2 separate regions of the Homo sapiens genome follow, and region 1 is linked to region 2. Evidence: promoter capture Hi-C in human tissues and cell types (Jung and others, 2019). All regions are on one chromosome and are shown on one strand. Each heading gives the region's core, a stretch centred on a gene start or on the middle of the fragment in contact. The rest is flanking DNA. Distances are from core to core; before and after follow the strand shown.

The links. The method cuts DNA at HindIII sites, captures the fragments that hold promoters and counts their contacts. A contact is called where the count stands out against the background at its distance.
Region 1: a contact is called between a fragment that was not itself captured here and the fragment with the promoter of PITPNA in region 2, in 1 of the 25 tissues and cell types used here (spleen).

Annotation. Positions count from the first base shown.
Region 1 is chr17:2,404,930-2,407,910 of GRCh38, reverse strand. It overlaps LOC284009 (a long non-coding RNA gene), which reads left to right. Exons shown (of 3, transcript NR_028335.1): 3 at 681-930. Among named protein-coding and RNA genes, the nearest start is that of MNT, 5.4 kb to the right of the region's middle. The HindIII fragment of the contact is 5,447 bases long and covers 1-2,981 here.
Region 2 is chr17:1,561,402-1,564,359 of GRCh38, reverse strand. It overlaps PITPNA (phosphatidylinositol transfer protein alpha), which reads left to right and starts at 1,568. Exons shown (of 12, transcript NM_006224.4): 1 at 1,568-1,819. The coding sequence starts at 1,800. RefSeq lists silencers at 1,396-1,675, 1,746-1,795, 2,276-2,405 and enhancers at 1,248-1,747, 2,516-2,615. The HindIII fragment of the contact is 13,696 bases long and covers 1-2,958 here.

The sequences.
Region 1 (2,981 bases), core at 402-2,901, 840 kb before region 2:
CTGAAAAATGTTTTCCTATATTTTATTATGGCTATTTTAGTTTTATTTTTTACATTTAGCATTTGAATTTACATTGCTGTATGGTGTGAAGTTTAAGGACCTGTCTTTTACCAGTGGTTCAGCATTATTTCAGACTAACTCATCAGAGAGGGCGCTGGGAAGCTCTAGCACTCCCCACTGAGGTGTCCCTGATGGCACAGGGAGTGGAGCAGGCTGGGCAGCAGTGGTGTGTCCTTTCCCAGTGGGCCCTGGGGCCTTGGGGAGAGATCTCATAGTGCACCTGGAGCTGAGCCCTGGCTCTGTGGTATCTGCTCTGGGCTGTGCAGCCAGTGACCGGCCACTGCTCTCGGCCTTGCCTCCAGAGAGAGCCTCATTCCTGGCATAGGCTGCTGATCTCTTGGGCTTTCAAGACTTGATGCTACAGCCTTGCATTTGGGTGTGAACTGGGGCTGCTGGGATATAGACCTTAGTCCTTTGTGTGGGGCACTGATCACATTGCAGCCCGTCGGTCCTGGGAGGTTTCTTCCCTATCACCATGTCCCCACCCCTGCGTGATCCAGCGGACTCTTGACTCCCATGGCAAGACTCCACCCGGCTTTACTCATAACTTCTGCCCAGTCCCACTCCCTTGACCTGAATTAGTTTTGCTGTCATAAAGCCACCTCTTTTTTCCTTTAAAGGAATCCCTGACATCGTCATCCGTCTCCTGTGCCTTTCCGCTGGGTCAGCCTCCTCCCACCAAGCTTCTGACCCACTGTCATCCGCAGCTGCCACTCTAGCTGCAGAGCTCGACTGGGCTCTGGTTTCTCAGAAGAGCTCAGAGGACCTGGCTCCTCCCTCTTTGCTTCTGAACTGCATTTCTTTCCTTATTACTCAGTGTCCACACCCACGGTGGCTGCCTGGATAAAAATCTGCCCCTTTCTCCCGTCACCTTTCATGCCAGACAAAAGCCCCAGTGAGTAATGGTGACCTACCCAGGTCCAGCTAGCAGCTCTCCATTCCTGAGTGGCCTGGGGCAGAACAGGGTCCTGCGAGCTCCTGGATCCCAAGTCTGATTCCCTTTCCCTGTCTTCCCGCTTATCTGCTAAGCTTGTTTATTGGGGACCACTAAGCAAAGTGAATGATTATTCCTGTCTTTAACGAGGAGGGGTGGAGTTCCCTCTCCATCTTCACCCACTTCTGGGAGGCTTTCAGGGACTCAACACCCCACACTGATAGCACTTCCCCAGGCCTGGCCCAGCCAGCCAAAGAGGAGGACCAGGCCACTTCTCAACCTAGCTGATGCTTGGCAGCTTTGTGACCTTGGATACACCTTCTCTTGGGAGGTCAGACCCCATGATCCCAGCTCTTCCAGCTATGACATCATGTGAGGCTGCAATTTTTTTTTTTTTTTTTTTGAGACAGTATCTTGCTATGTTGCCCAGGCTGGCCTTGAAATCCTGGGCTCAGGCGATTCTCCTGTCTCAGCCTCCCACGTAGCTGGAACTTAGGGCGTGAGCCACCGCGCCCAGCTTCTGGAAAGGACATGAATGGGGAGGTGGAACTTGATTGGACCTGTTCTGTGAGTTCAGGAGAGGTCCTCTGACAACTCACTTGGGGTGGGGAAAGGAGGTAAAGAGTCCTGTGGAAACTTTTGGCTGTGGGGACCCCATTTCACTGATGATTGAATGGGTCCACCTCTGTCAAAGGAATTCAGAGTCCCACTCATCATTCAGACTGGGGGAATCAGGCTCAGTTGACTGGCCCAGCCTTAAATCCACTGAATTTGTTTTTATCTCTACATAGAAAAACGGAATTACAGTTGCTTCTCACTGTCCAATGGGGATTGGTTCCTGGAGCCTCCCTGAATACCTGTCCATGGATGATGCTCAAATCCCTTACATGTAACCTATGCACATCCTCAGGTATCCTTTAACTCATCTCTGCGCTACTCAAATACCTCATACCATGTAAATGCTGTGTAAATAGTTCTTGTGCTGTGTTGGTTTTTAAATTTGTATTATTTTTTCTTGTATATTTTCCATTTTTTTTTCCTGAATATTTTTGATCCACGGTTAGTTGCCTCCATGGGTGCGGACCCACGGACACGGAGGCTGCACCTTCTGAAATGAGCATGGCGGCGCCCTCTGGGTCCTCGTGTCGTCCTGTCTCTGGTGCTGCATCCAGCACGGTGGCGAACAGCAGAACTAATCTTTTGCAAGTTATCACAGTGGAGTGGAGTTCCGCTCTGTTTGCTTTTGCCCCGCTCTGGCTTACCAGAGGTCCCCTGGCCTTGGCCACAGCATACCTAGCCTAGTGCTTGGCACCTCAGGCACACAATAAATATTTATGAAATGGATCTTCTCTGGTATGTCTTGAGTGTACTAGTCTTCTGTTTTTTCCTCTTCATCCTGCAGCCAGCTTCCTCCCATGGGTCTTGTTTTAATGATGGTATGTGAAAAGCTCCTTAGCTGCTTGCAAAAGATGAGACATCAGGCTTGAAGGGTTGGGATTTCCTGTGAACATCTGTACTTTCGGCTTCACGCCCTTTCCCCCATCTCATGACTCAGGCTTTGTAGGAGTCAGGGCACTGATTTTCATAGCTCTTGGAGTTGATACTTTGTTAGGTGAGTGGTGGGGGATAGGAAGACAGTTCCACTAAGGGGATGTCTCTGGCTCAGCATATTAAAAAATTGGGGAATTGGTGCTTCTTATTGTGGTTGGTGAAAAAAAGAATAAAAGATTAAAAAATTGGAGGACATAATGGAATTTGAACTGGGAGGTGGGGTGCACAAGACTCGGGGAGGAAGACTGAAAACGGAAACCCTCTCGTGAGAAACTCACAATGATGGACAGCCCAGCTTTTCTCCTGCTCCAAGGTACTAAGCACCCAGAAGCCATGAAGAAACTTAAGGAACAGCCGGGCGCGGTGGCTCACGCCTGTCATCCCAGCCCTTTGGGAGGCCAAGACAGGCAGATCACTTGAGGTCAGGAGTTTGAGA
Region 2 (2,958 bases), core at 319-2,818:
CCAGCCTGTCTTGCCTGTGTTCTCAGAGAAGACAGTACCGTCCACCCCGGCTCCCAGGCCAGAGACCTCGCTGCTTTTCTCTCCTCCTCTCAGCCAATGAGTCAACAAGTCTCACGGAGTTTACCTTCTGAGTTGCTCCTGAATCCATCCCTTCCTTTTCTTCCCTCCCACTGTCCTAGTCCACCTGCACCTGGACATCTGCAGCAGCCTCCTCGCCGGTCTCCCTGCCTACGCTCTGGCATTCCATCCCCTCTGTCCACCCAACCACTAGAGTGAGCCTTCGCCCAGGACACCCGCTCATGTCACTGCTCAGAGCCCTTACATGCCCTCCCACCGCCCTTAGGGTGGACTCCAAATACCTTATCATCGTTCACCAGGAACCCTCCCCTATTGAGCTGCTCAGCCCTGAAATGTTCTGTTCCACTCACTTGTCAGTTCTCCAAATGCACCATGCTCTCCCTCTTGCCTCCAGCCTTTGCATTCACTCTGCCTGCTATGCTCTTCTCCGAAGCCCTCTGCAGATCTGAGAATCTCTTCCTCCAGGAAGCCTTCCCTGACTACATCCCTGACGCTCAATTAGGTGCCCCTCCGTGTAATGCCGCTAAGCCTGTGTCTCATTTCTCACAGCCCTTTTCATTCTTTTTTTTTTTTTTTTTTTTGATGCAGAGTCTCGCTCTGTCGCCCCAGCTGGAGTGCAATGGTGCGATCTCGGCTCACTGCAACCTCCGCCTCCAGGGTTCAAGCGATTCTCCTGCCTCATCCTCCCGAGCAGCTGGGACTACCACCACCACGTCCACCACCACGCCCGGCTAATTTTTGTACTTTTAGTAGAGATGGGGTTTCGCCATCTGGTCTGGAACTCCTGACCTCAGGTGATGCGCCCGCCTGAGTGCTGCATTACAGGCATGATGTGCCTGGGATTACTGCCAGGAGCCACCGCGCCCGGCCTCACAGCCCTTTTCTTTTCTTTTTTTTTTTTTTGAGACGAAGTTTCACTCTTGTCCCCCAGGCTGGAGTGCAATGGCGCGATCGCGATCTCGGCTCACTGCAAACTCTGCCTCCCGGTACAAGCGATTCTCCCGCCTCAGCCTCCCGTGTAGCTGGGATTACAGGTGCGTGCCTCCACGCCCAGCTAATTTTTGTATTTTTAGTAGAGACGGGGTTTCATCATGTTGGCCAGGCTGGTCTCGAACTCCTGACCTCAGGTGATCCGCCCGCCTCGGCCTCCCAAGGTGCAAGGATTACAGGCGTGGGCCACCGCGCGCGGCTATTAATATTTTTTGAAACAACCTTTTCCTGGGTCTCAATTCCCTCAACCGGGGAGGCCCCCCAGCCAGCACCCGCGTGCATCCGTGGCGGTTCACACCGAGGACGGTGACGGACACCCTAGTCTGCTCCGCCTTCTGCCGGGTCTGGCCCCAGCCGCGGGGCCCCACCTCGGAACCGACAGCGCCGCCGCGGCCCACTTAAGGACGGGAGGGCGGGCCTGGGAAGGCTCGGCCCCGCGTGACGTCAGCGCGCACCGCGGCGTGTGACGCTCTGGTTGCCGCAGAGACGCCCCGCCCCCGCGCGGCGCTGCGGAACCGGAGCTCCGGGCGGCGTCGGCAGCGGCGCGAGAGGCGACGAGGCCCGGGCGGCAGGAGCCGGCGCGGCGACCGCGGCGAGGGCGGCGGGGACGGAGCAGAGCACGACGAAGACGCACAGGCAGCCGGGCCGGGCCGGGCCACGGGGAGAGCGGCCGGCGGGCAGCGGGCGGGAGGCCGGGCGGGCCGCGGGCAGCCACCGAGCCGCGAAGCGACATGGTGCTGCTCAAGGAGTAGTGAGTGTCCGGCGGCCGTGCGGAAGCGGGGAGGAGGGAGGGTGGGGACGGCCGCCGGGGCGACGGCGCGGCGAGGGACGCAGGGCCCGGATGGACGGAGGGGCAGCAGGGACGGAGGGTGCCTGAGGCGGGCCCAGCGGGGATGGAGGGGATCCGGGGCGGGCGGCACGTGAGGCGGGGCCCACGGGGCACGGAGGGGCGGCCGGGGCGTGGAGGGGCGGCCGGGGCGTGGAGGGGCAGCCGGGGCGTTCGGCATCTGAGCCGGGGCCCACGGGGCATGGACGGGCAGCCGGGGCATGGAGGGGCCCACGGGCACGGAGGGACAACCCGGGCGGACGGCTCCTCAGGCGCCCCGGGGGCCTCGGAGGCCCAAGTGGACCCGAGGAGAGGCCGGGGACAGCGAGGGCGAGGCCAGGCCCGAGACGGGGTCAGGGCAGGGAGAGCTGGCCCGGGACTGGGGGAGGCCGAGGGGACGCCGAGCGCTGGGAGTGCTGTGGGGTCGCTCTGCGCGGGCCGAGGGCGCGGGCTCAGCCGGGACTGCAGGCGGCGCTGAGAGGCCCCGCGGCGGCCGAGGAAGAGGCGCACCGGGGCAGGCAGGGCCTCCCGGCGGTGGGGAAAGGTGGAGGGCCGAACAGTTCACACGGAGAGCCGGGTGGATGGGTCAGAGGCTCCGCGATGGAGTTGGGATGGGGATGGGGAGGAGTGGCCGCCTTAGGCATCGGGTGAGGGGTGGTGGTAAGTGGACACAGGAGGAGGACTAGGAAGTCAGGGCCTGGCTGGGGAGACAGGTGAAGGGTCTGAGGACATGCAGAGGGGGCTGAGATGCGGGCCGGAGTAACCGTGGTGCCCAAGCAGCTGGTGCGGAAGAGGAGGCTTTTGGAACAAGCTTGGGATGACTGCTTGGGACGTGGGGAGACTTGGGCGAGGAGGCCAGAAAATGTTGGGTAGGGTCCGAAGTGGAGAAGGCCGGGAAGTTACCGGGGTCGAGGCTGGTCCGGAAAGAGAGTATGTTGGGATGAGTATACCTGCCGTTGGAGATGGGGGAGACCAGGGCAGGGCCAGCTTGTTTCTAGGGGATTCTCAGTCTTGGTGCAAAGAGATGGGGAAATTCTTTGAGGAATTGAGGGGTCCATGGAGCC